2 separate regions of the Homo sapiens genome follow, and region 1 is linked to region 2. Evidence: promoter capture Hi-C in 16 types of primary human blood cells and fetal thymus (Javierre and others, 2016). All regions are on one chromosome and are shown on one strand. The core of a region is centred on a gene start or on the middle of the fragment in contact, and the rest is flanking DNA. Distances in the headings are between cores, read along the strand shown. Region 1 overlaps ZFAND2A (zinc finger AN1-type containing 2A). Region 2 holds the start of GPR146 (G protein-coupled receptor 146).

Region 1 (7,019 bases), core at 1-2,500, 110 kb before region 2:
GCAGTAAATACGCTTATTGATTTGAATAACTGCAGCCTTGACATAGTATTTAGGTGACTCCCAGAGTACACAGCAGAAACTGAAAGAGGACCTAAGGAAATGAGCTTGCCCCGAGTCCAGAGGTTTGAGACTTGTTGTTGACTTTTCAGATGGTTCCCAGCCCGTGTTTACTTTGTCTCTGGATGGGTCACAGGTCATTTTAGTGAACTCTGCCACTTGACCGTGGTGGCAGTGGTAATGTGGGTGGCCCAGCATTCTGTGCTTTGACCAGTGTTGGCCAGGGTCTGACCCTCCAGCCATTTTTAGGCCATCACGGTGGGTGGGGAGGGTGACTCACATTCCCTGCGTTTACTAGGCACGGATGACTAAGCCAGACTGCCCAGCTTGTCTTCCCACTGCCCCTTCCTGCCCCAGCATGGGGTGGGGTCTGGCTGGAGACCGTTTACTAATACTTTATTTCATTTGACCAAATGAGGAAGCACCACCACCTGTGACTCTCCCAGCTCGGGCTGTAGACGGGTGTGCTCATAATTCCGTGAGCACCTGCCACCCGTTCCATGTCGGTTGCCACCTCGGTTTTCTCATTGACCTTTCCATCAATTCCTGCCCTGGCTCAGGTTTTTAGCCATGCTGGGCGTTAGCTGCTGGGCGGTCCACCCCTTCGGAGCCCCCAGCTCAGGTTTTTAGCCTTGCTGGGCCTTCAGCTGCTGGGCGGTCCACCCCTTCGGAGCCCCCAGCTCAGGTTTTTAGCCTTGCTGGGCCTTCAGCTGCTGGGCGGTCCACCCCTTCGGAGCCCCCAGCTCAGGTTTTTAGCCTTGCTGGGCCTTCAGCTGCTGGGCGGTCCACCCCTTCGGAGCCCCCAGCTCAGGTTTTTAGCCTTGCTGGGCCTTCAGCTGCTGGGCGGTCCACCCCTTCGGAGCCCCCAGCTCAGGTTTTTAGCCTTGCTGGGCCTTCAGCTGCTGGGCGGTCCACCCCTTCGGAGCCCCCAGCTCAGGTTTTTAGCCTTGCTGGGCCTTCAGCTGCTGGGCGGTCCACCCCTTCGGAGCCCCCAGCTCAGGTTTTTAGCCTTGCTGGGCCTTCAGCTGCTGGGCAGTCCACCCCTTCGGAGCCCCCAGCTCAGGTTTTTAGCCTTGCTGGGCGGTCCACCCCTTTGGAGCCCTCACAACCTTGGCCTGCAGCCAGTGACGGTCGTTAGTACCTGGGAGCTCACCCTAGGTACACGTGGCCTCATCTGGGCGCAAGCAACTCTCTGTGTACGTAGAAGCCACTGGGGAAACCGCAAAGGGATCAGGCCGTTGGCGACTGAGGGGAGCTGGAGGGTCTTTGTGGTCCATGTTTCCCTCCATCTCCTCCCTGTGGAGGTGTCTGGGCAGGCTCTGTTCTCACCTGGGCGGTGCCAGCCTGAGATGGCCCCAGCTGGTTTCTGCAGTCGGCTGAAGTCCATTCGTTGAAACTTCACTAGACTCCTCAGGGCAGCTGATGCCCACATTCTAGAGATGGCTGCCGCTAATCCATGACCCAGTGATGCTTTGTTCTCGGAGGGCTCGGGAGACCGGTTTTTGTCCTCTCTTTGTGTTTAAGTGTGCCGCACAGGAGTACTCGTTTAAAACTTCTGTGAGTTTAAGTTGCATGAGTCTCAGATGCCATCTTACCTTTGTTATTTTTAGGATGTTCACGTCCCAGTATGCCCACTCTGTAATACCCCCATCCCAGTAAAAAAGGGCCAGATACCAGACGTGGTGGTTGGTGATCACATTGACAGAGACTGTGACTCTCACCCTGGGAAGAAGAAAGAGAAGGTAAGGACAGAGCCCGCCTCAGTTCCTTCATCTGGGAAGCCTGGTTTTTCCTTGGGAAGAGTCAGTTTGCTACCTGAAAATTACTCCCAATAGTTTATGTACAAAGTAGAAAAGAAGAGTCCTAACGCTGCGTTATCCCTGTCCTAAACTGCGAGGGGCCTGAGTTTTCAGTTTTATAAATGTTCTTTAATATGAGGGATCCCAGGTCAGGTTCGTCTTTCTTGACTGGAATTTACTAGTTTCCCTCCTGAGATGGAGAATTCACATGGCTTTCTAGATCCATTCTGTTCATGTGCGTTTCATTTGTTTGTTTGTTTGTTTGTTTGTTTTGAGACAGTCTTGCTCTGTCACCCAGGCTGGAGTGCCATGGTGAATGGTGCCGTCTCGGCTCATTGCAACCTCTGCCTCCCGGGTTAAAGCGATTCTCCTGTCTCAGCCTCCCGAGTAGCTGGGACTACAGGCGCATGCCACCACATCCAGCTAACTTTTGTATTTTTAGTAGAGACAGGGTTTCACTATGTTGGCCGGGCTGGTCTTGAACTCCTCACCTTATGATCTGCCCGCCTCAGCCTCCCAAAGTGCTGAGATTATAGGTGTGAGCCACCACGCCCAGCTCAAGGAGCTTCTCTAGTGAACTGGCTGCTGTCAGGCTTAATCCGTTCCTAGTCATGGGTCCTGGTTGGTGGTTACCAACTATCTTAGTATATGATGTTCAATACTTTACAGTTATATTACCATAAACCAAATAACTTTTGGTCTCAAACATAGAGAATAAAATCAGTGTTCCTTAGTCTGCCACACAAAATTCTCTGTGCGGAAGCTTGCTCTGGTCCCCACTTTCTGGCCCTGTCTAGCTCTCCCTGCTGTGGCTGTGCCCTGGGACCCTCAGCCTCTGGAGGTCTCTTAAGCCTCTGAGACATCACAGCTCTCTGGCACACCCGCTTCTTCCACATGACACAGCTTCCCTTGCTGGGGGCTCACCCAGCACTGCCCCAAGGCCCCCACACAGGAATGCCCTCCCGGCTGCTCCTGGCCCGCTGTGCTCCTGTCCTTTTGGTGGGCACGCCCTGTGTTCTGCCTGCATCCCTGCACGGGTCCCTCCTGCATGGTCGCTCAGCATGGCCATGCCTGCCTGCCTTGGCCGGAGGGCCACCCCCGGCTGCTGGAACCCTCCCCACTCTCCTCACTGCCTTCCCCTCTTGGAGTTCTGACTCCTAGGACTTTATATCGCTGCCTACATCCTGGCACCAAAAAAAAAAAAAAAAAAAATGACCGGTGGGTACTGGGACATGATAGATATTCCCTTGATGGGGACAACCTCCACTGTCCCAGGGCTCCTGGAGCCAGTGCCTCTGTGGGGCTTGCCTGTCATCTGTGCTTGGCCTCCTTCCCTCCCGCTCCCTGCTTCCTGGCTGCCTCTCTCTGTTGTCCTCCCAGCAGCACCTCCGGGCCATCTTCACGGGAATCCCCAGCTTCAATGCTGACCGGCTTTTTTTTTTCTTTCTTTTTAAAGGGACGAACTCTTGCTCTGTCGCCCAGGCTGGAGTGCAGTGGCACAATCTCAGCTCACTGCCGCCTCTGCCTCCTCTAGCAATTCTCCTGCCTCAGCCTCCCAAGTAGCTGGGATTACAGGCACCACGCCACCATGCCTGGCTAATCTTTTATATTTTAGTGGAGATGGGGTTTCACCATGTTGCCCAAGCTTGTCTCGAACTCCTGAGCTCAGGCAATCCACCCATCTTGGCTTCCCAAAGTGCTGGGATGACAGGCGTGAGCCACTGGGTCCAGCCCCATGTTCTTCTTACCTGCACTGAGATGGTCAAATGAAACTTTGCATCTGTACTCTGTGCAGACAGGAACTGTGTCCAGTTTAAATGGGAATGTTCTTACCGGAGGCTGTTAAAGAATTTAAGGCCAGCACAGTGGCTCACACAGGTAATCTTAGCACTTTGGGAGGCCAAGGCGGGAGGATCACCTGAGGCTGAGTTTGAGACCAGCCTGGGCAGCATGGCAAGACCCCATCTCTGTGAAAATAGACAAAATTAGCTGGACGTGGCGGTGTGTGCCTGTAGTACCAGGTACTAGGCTGAAGCAGGAGAATCACTTGAGTCCAGGAGGCAGAGGTTGCAGTGAGCCAAGATCAAGCCACTGCACTCCAGCCTGGGCAACAGAGCGAGACCCTGTCTCCAAAAAAAGAATTGCTTGTTGAAGTCACTTTGCTCTCTTAGATTTTTACATACCGTTGCTCAAAAGAGGGCTGCAAGAAGAAAGAGATGCTGCAGATGGTATGTGCCCAATGTCACGGCAACTTCTGTATCCAGCACAGACACCCTTTGGACCACAGCTGCAGACACGGGAGTCGCCCCACCATCAAAGCTGGGTGAGAAGAGACTCCGCTGCGATGGCTCGGAGCACGCAGTAGCATGCGTGGAAGCAGCTTACACTCTAGTGGGAAGTGGAGCCCCATTGAGCACCATCCCACACTGGCTGCTGATCTTGTTTGTTGAGGGAGATGGGACTATAATAAAATTGAATGCTGAAGTTGATTCTAGTTGTTCTCATTGCCCACTGCTGCCGTCACCAAGTACTAAAAACTGGGTGGCTCAAACCATAGAAATCGGTTCTTTCACAGTTCTGGGGGCTGGAGGTCCAGGCGCAGGATGTCGGCAGGGCCAGCCCCTTCTGAGGGCTGCGGGGAGCATCGGCTGCGTCTCCCCAGCATCTCGGGGCTCGTCAATGCACAACCCCCGTCTCCACCTTCATCTTCACATGGCATTCTGTGTGTGTCCCGACTTCCCCTTTTTGTAAGGATGCTGGTCATGTGATCCCACAGTCGTGACCTCTGAAAAGACCCTGTGTCCACAGAAGGTCACACTCTGAGGTCCCGAGTCTAGGGCTCCAGCATGTCTTGTGGGGACATGATTCAACTCGTAATGCTAATGTTTGTCAAATCGAGAAGCATCTGTATTTGCCTCAACTGTTGCACCTGGTGGTGTCTGGCGTCCATCCCTGGGCCAGGCCAGTGGTAGTTGCTTACCTGCAGGAAGCTGTGTGGGTTCTTGCGGTCAGCACATGGAGGCTGAGCTGATCCATCCACCCTCTCTGTAGGTGCTCACCCATGACAGTCTCTGAATCCAGGCCGTTGGGAGATTTCCTCACCCTGGCTCCTGGCGGGCTGGCCCAGCGACTCGGGTACTGGTTCACCCGGCTCATGTGAACGCAATTTCGTCTGTGTGGGGTGCTGCAGCTCTTGGTTGGTGAACACGGAAAGGTTGCTGTGTGTAACTGCACAGTGTGACGCGATGCTCCAGTGGTGCGACTTCGTCAGGATGGATGAAGGACACAGGACTGGGACCCCAAGTTACAGAAGCAGCTCGCTCCAGCACAACCTTTCGGCAGCAGCAGCATCATACAGCTGGTTTCTGAAACACCTTTTCTGCCCTCCAAGATCCTCTGACATGATCAACATTCCTGCATCATCAAGACAAACCTGAAAAGAGCTGTTCTTTGTTCTTTTTGGTGGAAAGTGATGAGGTCCTTCCCGTTTGCACTGCCGTGTGGGTTATTTCCACTCTAGGTAACTTCCGCCTTCAGGTACTCCCCATACTTCTAATGGCCCAGCAGCACCTCCGGGCCATCTTCACGGGAATCCCCAGCTTCAATGCTGGCTGGCTTTGCTTTTTTTTTTTTAAAAGGGATGAAGTCTTGCTCTATTGCCCAGGCTGGAGTGCAGTGGCACAATCTCAGCTCACTGCCACCTCTGCCTTCCAGGTTCTAGCAATTCTCCTGCCTCAGCCTCCCGAGTAGCTGGGATTACAGGCACCAAACTGCCATGCCCGGCTAATCTTTTATATTTTAGTGAAGATGGTTAGCCTGAAACCTTGAAACTTCCCCACTGAAATACACAAACTAGGCCGGGCGTAGTGGCTCACACCTGTAATCTCAGCACTTTGGGAGGGCAAGGTGGGTGGATCACCTAAGGTCAGGAGTTCAAAACCAGCAAACACCAGACAGCTCACTTGCGCTCTTCACCATGTCACCTCTGTAACGATGTGACTATCTGGCCAAGAAGGGGGAAGGACATCCACCTGCCTGGCCGAGGGTTCTTGTCCAGCGGCGGCCACAGGTGCTACTCGCATTGTTTGAGGGCACAGCTGCGTGCCCGTTCCTGACCTCCAAGGGGCTGGGACACTGTGTGAGAGAAGGTGTGTCTTCCTGGACCACTTGTCCCTGCCACGGTCAACTTCTTAAAACAGGCACAGTTCAGCCAGGCGCAGTGGCTCACGCTTGTAATCTCAGCACTTTGGGAGGCGGAGGCAGGCGGATCACCTGAGGTCAGGAGTTTGAGACCAGCCTGGTCAACATGGTGAAACCCCATGTCTACTAAAACAAAAATTAGCCAGGTGTGGTGGTGGTACACGCTTGTAATCCTAGCTACTCAGGAGGCTGAGGCAGGAGAATCACTTGAACCTGGGAGGCGGAGGTTGCAGTGAGCCCAGATTGTGCCACTGCACTCCAGCCTGGGCAACAGAGCAAGACTGAATCTCAAAAAAAAAAAAAAAAAAGGCACAGTTGTCAGCAGCCAGCAAGCCCGAGAGCTGCTTTGCACCTGGATCTATTTCAGCACCAACAAGAAAGTTGCAAAATGCCACCTGTTGAAGATGGCTCTGTCCAGTGATGAAGCAGTGGAAACTTCCAGAAGTGACTTAAAACTACAATGGCAGGAACTAGGGCTTCCACAAGTGCCAGAGATTACAGGAGACTGGGTTTTATAGGTTTGAAGAGCAGAAAGCCAAAACGGGAGGGAAGGGGGGTAGTGAGGTGCACAGTCCTTTGTGGCTCAGATGACAGATGCGGCCTTCGTGGCCTGACACTTTCCACCACCGTCTGATTTTGTGAAGTGATGAACACGGGTAACGTAAATACTGGTGTTAGATTTATACTGACAGCCGCTCTGCTCATCAAGAGTGCAGTGATTTCCTGGGAACTTAGGGGGTGTCAGGGAATAAGGTGAAACAAAATTCCCCCAAGTTCTGTCCTGTTCTGAACTGCCCTGGCCATCCAGCTGTGCCCACCAGATGTCCCGCTGAGACAGTTCACAAAAACACAAGCCACTGCCTTTTTTTTTTCTGCTTTCACCATCTAAAAATGTAACGGGAAGGGTTTGTATTCTGTTGGCGTTCTGCAAAAAGGTGGTCAGACCTGCAGTCAGGGGAACGA
Region 2 (7,430 bases), core at 3,377-5,876:
GGCCCCGTCACACCCCACACTGCTGGCCAACGTGGAGGAGGAGGCAGCCCCCAGGACGCACCTGTGGGTGGCGCTTGCATGGGTAGCACAGGGTCAGACCGCGGAGGCCTGGGGAGCGCACGCTCAGACAGCGGAGGCCTGGGGAGCGCACGCTCAGACTGCAGAGGCTTTGCAGTTTTATGGTTTTTATGTTCTGAGTTGGGGCTTTGATACCAACACAATGAATTTCCCGATGTTTCACTAGTACTAAACTGGAGTATAAACACTTGCTTCCCTGGCCTCTATTCATTGCTTTCAAAGGAACATGGGACTGAGAAGGAGAACCTGCTCCAGGGGTCTTGGTTCTCTTTGGTTCATAACTCGTGAAAATGTCTGGAGCCCATGTGCGGCTGTGGAGACCATGGCCATAGCAGGGTGTGGACAGGGGCGACAGGACCCCGTCAGGCTAGCTGTCAGGAGCATTTCAAGTGAGACGTTGGCATCTTTCTTCCTATGTCTTATTTAAAAAGAGCCCAAAGTGCTATCAAACAGTCTGTTAATAATGAATGTCTGTGAGCAGTGAGGTGAACTTGGCTGAAACCCGGGGCTAACTTTGATAGGGTTTCCCAATAGAAATGGACTGCCCCAGGCCTGTTCAGAAGCAGCAGGCCTGGAGACAGAGGGGGCCTGAGTGTGGGGATGGTGACCACCCCTCTCAACCTGAGAGGCACCCGGGTCCCTGTATGTGTGTGTGAGAGAGAGAGAGCATCATAGCGCCTGCACTGCACAGAGCTGGCAGAAACAGAAACCAGCAGAGGAATCCTCTGCTCCAAGGTGGCTGAATTAGTTTCACAAAAGCCATCGCTTTTGATGTTGCTGTCCCTGTTAGTCGGGAAGTTCTTTCCTCTGTTGCTTAGGGCCCTGTCAGAGCTGGGGCCGGCAAGTCCCACGCCCGGTGATCCCCACGAAGTTTCCGGGTGCTCTCTTTCACACTGTCTTTTGCGGATGTTGATCCCTTGCCTAGAACACCCTTTCTCGCTTCCCCTCGTTCTCTCAGCAAACACTGGCTCGTCCTTGACATTTTATTTTGGGCATCAGTACCCCCGGGAACCCACCCCTGACCACTGTCTCCACACCCCTCCGCCAGTCTTTGCTGGGTTAAGCCTGTCCGCACATCCATCTCTTTCCCACCTACTTGGAGCTCTTTGCAGGCAGGGGAAGTTTTTATGTGTGCTGCAGCAGCCTGGCTGACTGTTGGATGAAAACCGTAGAAGGGGATGTATTCAGTGACGTAAAAGGCTTTTCCCCAAGGCGAGTGATCCACCAAGGCGAGTGATCCAATTTCCCCACTGAGTAGAAAGGAGAGCAGGCAGGATGGGGACTCAGCGCTTCTTATTGTCCCCGGACAGTTGTTGAAGCTTTAGAGCCTTAGATTTGAGTGGAAAGAGAACTGCGAGGCCCCAGGCACTGCATCCTCAGGATGGCAGGAAAGGAGTGGAAAGGCCACGGCCAGCTCCTGGCCGAACCTGCCATGCACCATGAGACGCTCAACCTTGGGTGAATATTCTAGAACAATCAAAATGCTTTCAAAATGACTCTGGAATGTTTATTTTCTTTTGTAGTAATGAACCCAGGCTTTAGCAACAATTAACATCCAGCTCCTAGGAGCCAGATGCTTAGGAAAGGCTGCTGTTTTCACAGGGTTTCCACGTGGAGAGCTTACGCACACTGATTCCTATCTGTGCCTTCCTGGGCTGTGATAAGAAATGGTTCATTACATAGGTGGATGGTTTTGATTTTTGTAGCCTTTTGCTTTTTACAATTCCAAACTGCAGAGTAGTGAGAGTGAATCAGGTGACTTGGCTTAGACTATAAACAAAGAGAATGCCTCTCTTTTTCCATGGATAATAGCGAGCATGTTTGCGGCTCCAGGACGGGCTCTGGGGGCCTGAGACCAAGCACCTTGCTGGGCCAGTGAGCGGGCTGGGCACCTGTGCCTGCAGCTATGGGCGCCAGTTCCCTGGAGGAAGGTGGAACAGCATTCTTTTGTTTACTTGGCTTTTTGTTCCCTAACTGGGTGTGAGGCTAATTCCCTCTCCAGGTACATCAGACCAGGGAAAAACAAAAACAAACAAAAAAGACTTCCTCAGAAATTCAAAGACATGGCCAAGAACAGAGAGTCTCTACTGCAGACTCTGGGCAGGCTTGGCACCTGCCGGGGCTCCTCAGTCGAGCCCCGGTTTACTAGGCGTGGCCTTAACCTGCAGGGAAGTGCTCTGAGCCGCAGATCTTATCACCACCTTGGTTGTTTCCCAGGGAGGAGCCAGCAGGTTATTTCTCCTCATCACACTAGCTGTGGTAGCGACAGTGGTCTGCAAGGCTTGCTTTGGTTCCAATTAAAATGGGGAAAGTCCTTGGCCTTTGCAGGAAGGGACCTGGGTGTGGCTCTGTGGGGATGAACAGACACCTGCCCCACCTCCACCTTGTCCCTCTGCTGCTCAAGGGGGTATTTTGTTTGCACACGGAGGCTCCTGGGTAGACAGCACGCTCCTAAGAAACTGACTTCTGGTCCCGGGCAGCATCTCATTTTGGGATCTCAAATTGGAGCGAAACGTTATTCTACTCTCCAGACTGGGTTCCCTGTCCTCTTGGCTACCTGGATGGTGTCTTGGGGTCCTGAGCCTTTGAGACCCCTGGACAGATGTGGGCTAACTGGACAGCCTAATGCTGGTCAGTTGGGCAGGTGGGTTAGTGAAAGCCCTGGAGAGCAGAGGAGCTGGCAGGCAGGAGGGAATGGCTGGGAAACACTGTTGACAGAAAACAGCACCGTGGGATCGTCGTGTGCATGACACGGTCGGCCGGGTTCTCTGGGTGATAATTTCCTTCTGCAAAGGCAAGACCTCGCTGTGGTTGGGTCATTAAAGGCCAGGCGGCAGTTATTTTTTCAGGATTCCAGGTGACATCCTAGGGGCTGTGAGAGCTGCAGCTCCCTGAGGAGCCCCTTCTTCTCCCTGCCCCAGTGAGCAGCATGTCCCTCTTCCGACTGTAAATTACACGAGCATATTTCCCCATGCAGCGATCTGTGCAGTATGCCATTGATTCATTGTATGATAGACATAATCAGCCTTTACATCCTAACCTAAGACCCACATGAGGTGCGCGCCCTTTGCCCTTCTCTCTTCATCAGCCTACTGGGGCTTATGAGTTGCAGGGACTCCAAGTCAACTTTCACATTTACATTCTGCCCTAAATCTGTGTTCCTCTGTCCTCCATCCTCAGGATATGTCCATGCTGGCTAGAGAGGCAGGATGACACGTGGACGCCAGCACGGATGTGTGTGGCGTCGGGCAGTGAGCTGCTCTGGCCCCGACCTCTTCTCTGTGAAAAGGCACAACAGTATTCAATACATATAAACTATGTTCTTAAGTCACTTGTCTTCAGAGGCCTTCTTCATTGAGGAAGACAACAGGGGTTCTGGTTGGGGAGCCAGGCCTTACAGTAGTTCTTGAAGGAGCTGCACAGCAGGTCATGGGTACTGTGAGTGTGCACTTCGTCTAATTATTAACAGTGCCTCCGTTCACTCTCAACGGTGCCCCAGTTAGGACGGTAGACTATCTCATCACCACTATGCGTGAGGAGCCTGGGAACATGGTCAGAACCATTTTACTCATACAAGTTTGCAGAGGCCTTTAAAGCAAGCCTCTTGGCCCTCTGTTATTGAATGCTGGCCTCTGCTAGGTGCTGCAGGTAGCAAAAGATAAAAGATGTCGTGCTGTTCCGTGTGGACAGGAGCTGGCTATTTAAAGTGGAATGGAGGACTCAAGTACATCTTCATGGGCAGGGAAGAGATCAAAGGCTGTGGACGACGAATACAGAATTATCCTCTGGTCCACCACGTAGCATGCATGCAGAGATAAGCCACTGTGACCAGTCACATCAAGATTCATAGACTTATGCCTAATTTAGAGAACTGACTTGCCAGGTTTGTAATACTAACTTAATAGTGGGTTTTCTGCTGCTGGTAGTGGTGGTTTGGCGGCTGGAGAGCACTGCCTTCCAGTGAAGCTTTGAAAGAGCCGTCCCATGCCCTGCCAACTGTCCAAGACAACTGACAGCAGATCCGACACCTCCATGTAGACACAGATCCAAAACTCACTTTAAAATACTAATCACAGAAGGGGCCGAAAGCAGTCACCATAGTGGCCCAGGAGAGCAGGATCAGTGGTGCCCTGTCGGACATGGGAGAGCCGGTGGCGGCGCTGTGCCGCCTACGCCAGCAGCAGATTCAGCTGCCATCACCAGGTTAATGACCGAAAGCCCGCCCCCGGGGCTCAGCTCGGAGCGCGGCCGGAGGACAGCGGTCCCCTCCTGGCAAGGGCACGGAGCCCCGCAGTGGGCAGCGGCCAGAGGACCCGGGTCCCAGTAAGCGCAGCGCCCGCCGTGGGAGCCACAGCAGCTTGGGGCTGGCTCCCTCCCCAGGCGGAGACTGGGGTGTGCCCCACCGACCCGACCCAGGCTCCCGGGCCCCACTCACCGGCTTGCTGGGCGGCGGCCGGCGCAGTCGCCGCCGGGCGGGCAGCTCGGGCTGGCGGAGGCGGCGGGGCTCACGGCGCGCACGCCGCCCGGGCCCTGTGTACACACGTGACCGTCGGCCCCGCCCCCGGCCGGCGAGCGGCAGCCATGCCTGGCCCCGCCCCCAGCCTTGGTCCCGCCCTGGCCTCCGCCCCCCGGCCCCGCCCTCGCGGCTAGACCGCGGGGAACCGCTCGGACCAGTGAGGTTGGGGGGCGGTGGCGGTGGAGGCAGTGCTGGTTGTGTAACCTGAGACCAGCCATTTGACGAACTCGTGCGAGATTCCCTGTGGGAGGACACACACCCAGGGCTCTGGGAGTTTTTGAGAATTCTCTTAGTGCCCAGCGCGGTTTCTTTTTACAGGCGCTGGTGCCTATTTTGCTGAGTCAGAATATACCCTAATCTGCAGGGTGCAGGCCCCACCGCCCTCCAAAGGAAATGAGTGGCTGCAAGTTAGTCCTTCCAGGTACACCTGCCCCTCTTTCTTCACCGAAGTTTGCTTGCTGTTTCCAAAGTCACCAATTACTTCCTGGTTTTAGGATTTTCTTTGTAAACGGAACACTCACAGGAAAGCCGTTTAAAGAAACACATTGCTGCCTGATTACTTTTGTAGCTATTGTTACAAGTTAAACATTGGAAAAGTTGAAACAAGGACATTTACTTTGCTGTAATTTTTGAGGTGAAACAGTCCCCCCTGCAGCACATTCTGGTTCAGGATCTAAGAACATTTCTGAAAATCAAAGCATGTGGGTTGCACAGTTCCGCATAGACTTGCTGTGAGCTGCGGGCCGAGTGGAACACCAGCAGGAAGAATAGCGGCCACTGGCCCTCCGCTGCATGATGCTGTGGCCTACTGTGTTCAGGGATGTACCTCAGCCACCTTCCTGGACAGGACGGCTTCCTGACCGTGGGTCGGAGTGGGACGTCGGGATCAGCTTTCTATTCCAGCGGGAGGGCAGGGAGAGGCTCACCACGGCCCACGCCTGCTGATGTGATACTGACTTGCTGCCCAGCCCGGCACCAGGTCCCTGGCACAGTGGATGCAGCCCGGGCCCTGTGTGCCCAGAGGTGCCGGGTACTGATCTTACTTGCCAAAGTCAGTCACAAGCAGCCAACACCGATACCTGAGGGCGTATTCTGTGTCAGGTTCTGTTCTGAGCCTCAACCATTGTTTTGAGGTAGATACGTCCGTATTTCATCAAACCTAAGACACGATTGATTAGTGTTAGCTATGCCATTACTTTATGGATTACTAAAAAGAAGGCCCTCTGCCCACTGCATTCCGACATACTGCTGATTTTAAGGCGCAGCCTCACATTAGAGATGATAAAGTGAGAGTACGCCTTAGCGTCAATGAGATAGGTCACCATGTGCATTTTAATATTTTTTTTTTTTAAAGACAGAGTTTCTGTCATGTTGCCCAGGCTGGAGTGCAATGACACGATCTTGGCTTACTGCAGCCTCAGCCTCCTGAGTAGCTGGGATTACAGGTGCGTGCCACCATGCCCAGCTAATTTTTTTTTTTTTTTTTGTAGTAGAGATGGGGTTTCACCATGTTGGTCCGGCTGGTCTCGAACTCCTGACCTCAAGTGATCCGCCTGCCTGGGCTTCCCAAAGTGCTGGGATTACAGGTGTGAGCCACTGTGCCCGGCCATGCATTTTAAATTTAATTGTGAAAACTTAAGCAACTTAGCCCAGGTCACACTGCAGGCCGTGGAGCCAGGATTTGAACCCAGGGGTATTCTGGCTTTTTAGATCAGGGTTTGGGACTTTGGGCCCTCCTAGCAGCCCGCCTAAGAGTAAGCTTCGTTATCTCCATGGTATAAATGGCCCAAGACCTCAGAATCCCTGGTCAGAGTATGCACCGTGCTGTCTGGTCCCTGTAATGCCAGGCTCTGTGGGTCCTACCCACAGGGGTGCTCTGTGGCTGGGGAATGCTAGAGGTTAGCTTCCTCTGAGCCACTGAGCTTTCAGGTCACTGCAGACCGCCTTATCTGCAGAGACTTCCTGTGCCAAGCAGGCCAGTCCTGCCAGGGAGAATGGCAGAAAGCTCGTGTGTGTCCTGGGGAGATCGTCAGAGGGAACCACCCTCCACCTGAACCACAATAAGTACTCGTAGCTGGAGGTGTAAACACTCTCCAGAGGCTGCAGCTGCGTATCCAAGGGTCCTGGCCAGCCCCTGTACAAGACTCAGTTGGTGGGGGGAAGGGTGGGCACAGATTGGGGCGTAGGGGGGCGTGTGGCCCTGACTCAGCTTCGCGGTTGCACCCTAGTCTAGTGTTGATGGTTGAAGTCACGTGGACGTGGCCTCCCCTGTGTGGCTGCTGAGGGTGTTTGAGGGCAGTTGTGTGCTCCTGGCCTGGGGTCATGTGTTTGTGGCTGTGTGCCGTGGCTGCTGAGGGCATTTGAGGGCAGTTGTGCGCTCCTGGCCTGGGGCCGTGCCTCTGTGGTTGTGTGCCGTGTGTGTTGCGGGTGGGGGGTGCCCTAGTTGTGCACCTGATTCTGCAGCCCCGCACACTGCCGAGGCTCCTGTGTGCCGTGTGTGTTGCGGGTGGGGGATGCCCTAGTTGTGCACCTGATTCTGCAGCCCCGCGCACTGCCGAGGCTGCTGTGATGCAGCCGCGTGTCTCACGGAGATGTTGGGGCCGCCCTTCCCCTTCCCCTGCCGCATTCAGGCGGGTCGGCAGGCTTTCTTGCTTATTCTGAGTGGCGGTCCGGAAGGTCAGCTGCACGCCACCCAGGGATCCGGGGCTGCTGGTCAGGAGCTGGAGAGGGGCCCAGCTGGCCTGGGTCTGTCTGCACGTGGGCTTTCTCGGGGGGGCGGGGAGTGGTGGGAAAAGCTGGCTGGCGTTCCCCTCGGAGATGAACCTTCTCTAGTGAT

What was found. The method cuts DNA at HindIII sites, captures the fragments that hold promoters and counts their contacts. A CHiCAGO score of 5 or more calls a contact.
Region 1: a contact is called between a fragment that was not itself captured here and the fragment with the promoter of GPR146 in region 2, in 2 of 17 cell types (naive B cells and M1 macrophages). The highest score is 5.8, in naive B cells.

The regions. Positions count from the first base shown.
Region 1 is chr7:1,150,233-1,157,251 of GRCh38, reverse strand. It overlaps ZFAND2A (zinc finger AN1-type containing 2A), which reads left to right. Exons shown (of 5, transcript NM_182491.4): 4 at 1,668-1,799; 5 at 4,028-4,345. The coding sequence ends at 4,183. Among named protein-coding and RNA genes, the nearest start is that of ZFAND2A, 6.5 kb to the left of the region's middle. The HindIII fragment of the contact is 2,743 bases long and covers 1-2,621 here.
Region 2 is chr7:1,041,742-1,049,171 of GRCh38, reverse strand. It overlaps GPR146 (G protein-coupled receptor 146), which reads right to left and starts at 4,626. Exons shown (of 2, transcript NM_001303473.2): 1 at 4,514-4,626. All of the region lies in intron 2 of CHLSN (cholesin), which reads left to right. RefSeq lists silencers at 4,127-4,176, 4,357-4,846 and enhancers at 4,952-5,507, 6,996-7,430. The HindIII fragment of the contact is 2,309 bases long and covers 4,047-6,355 here.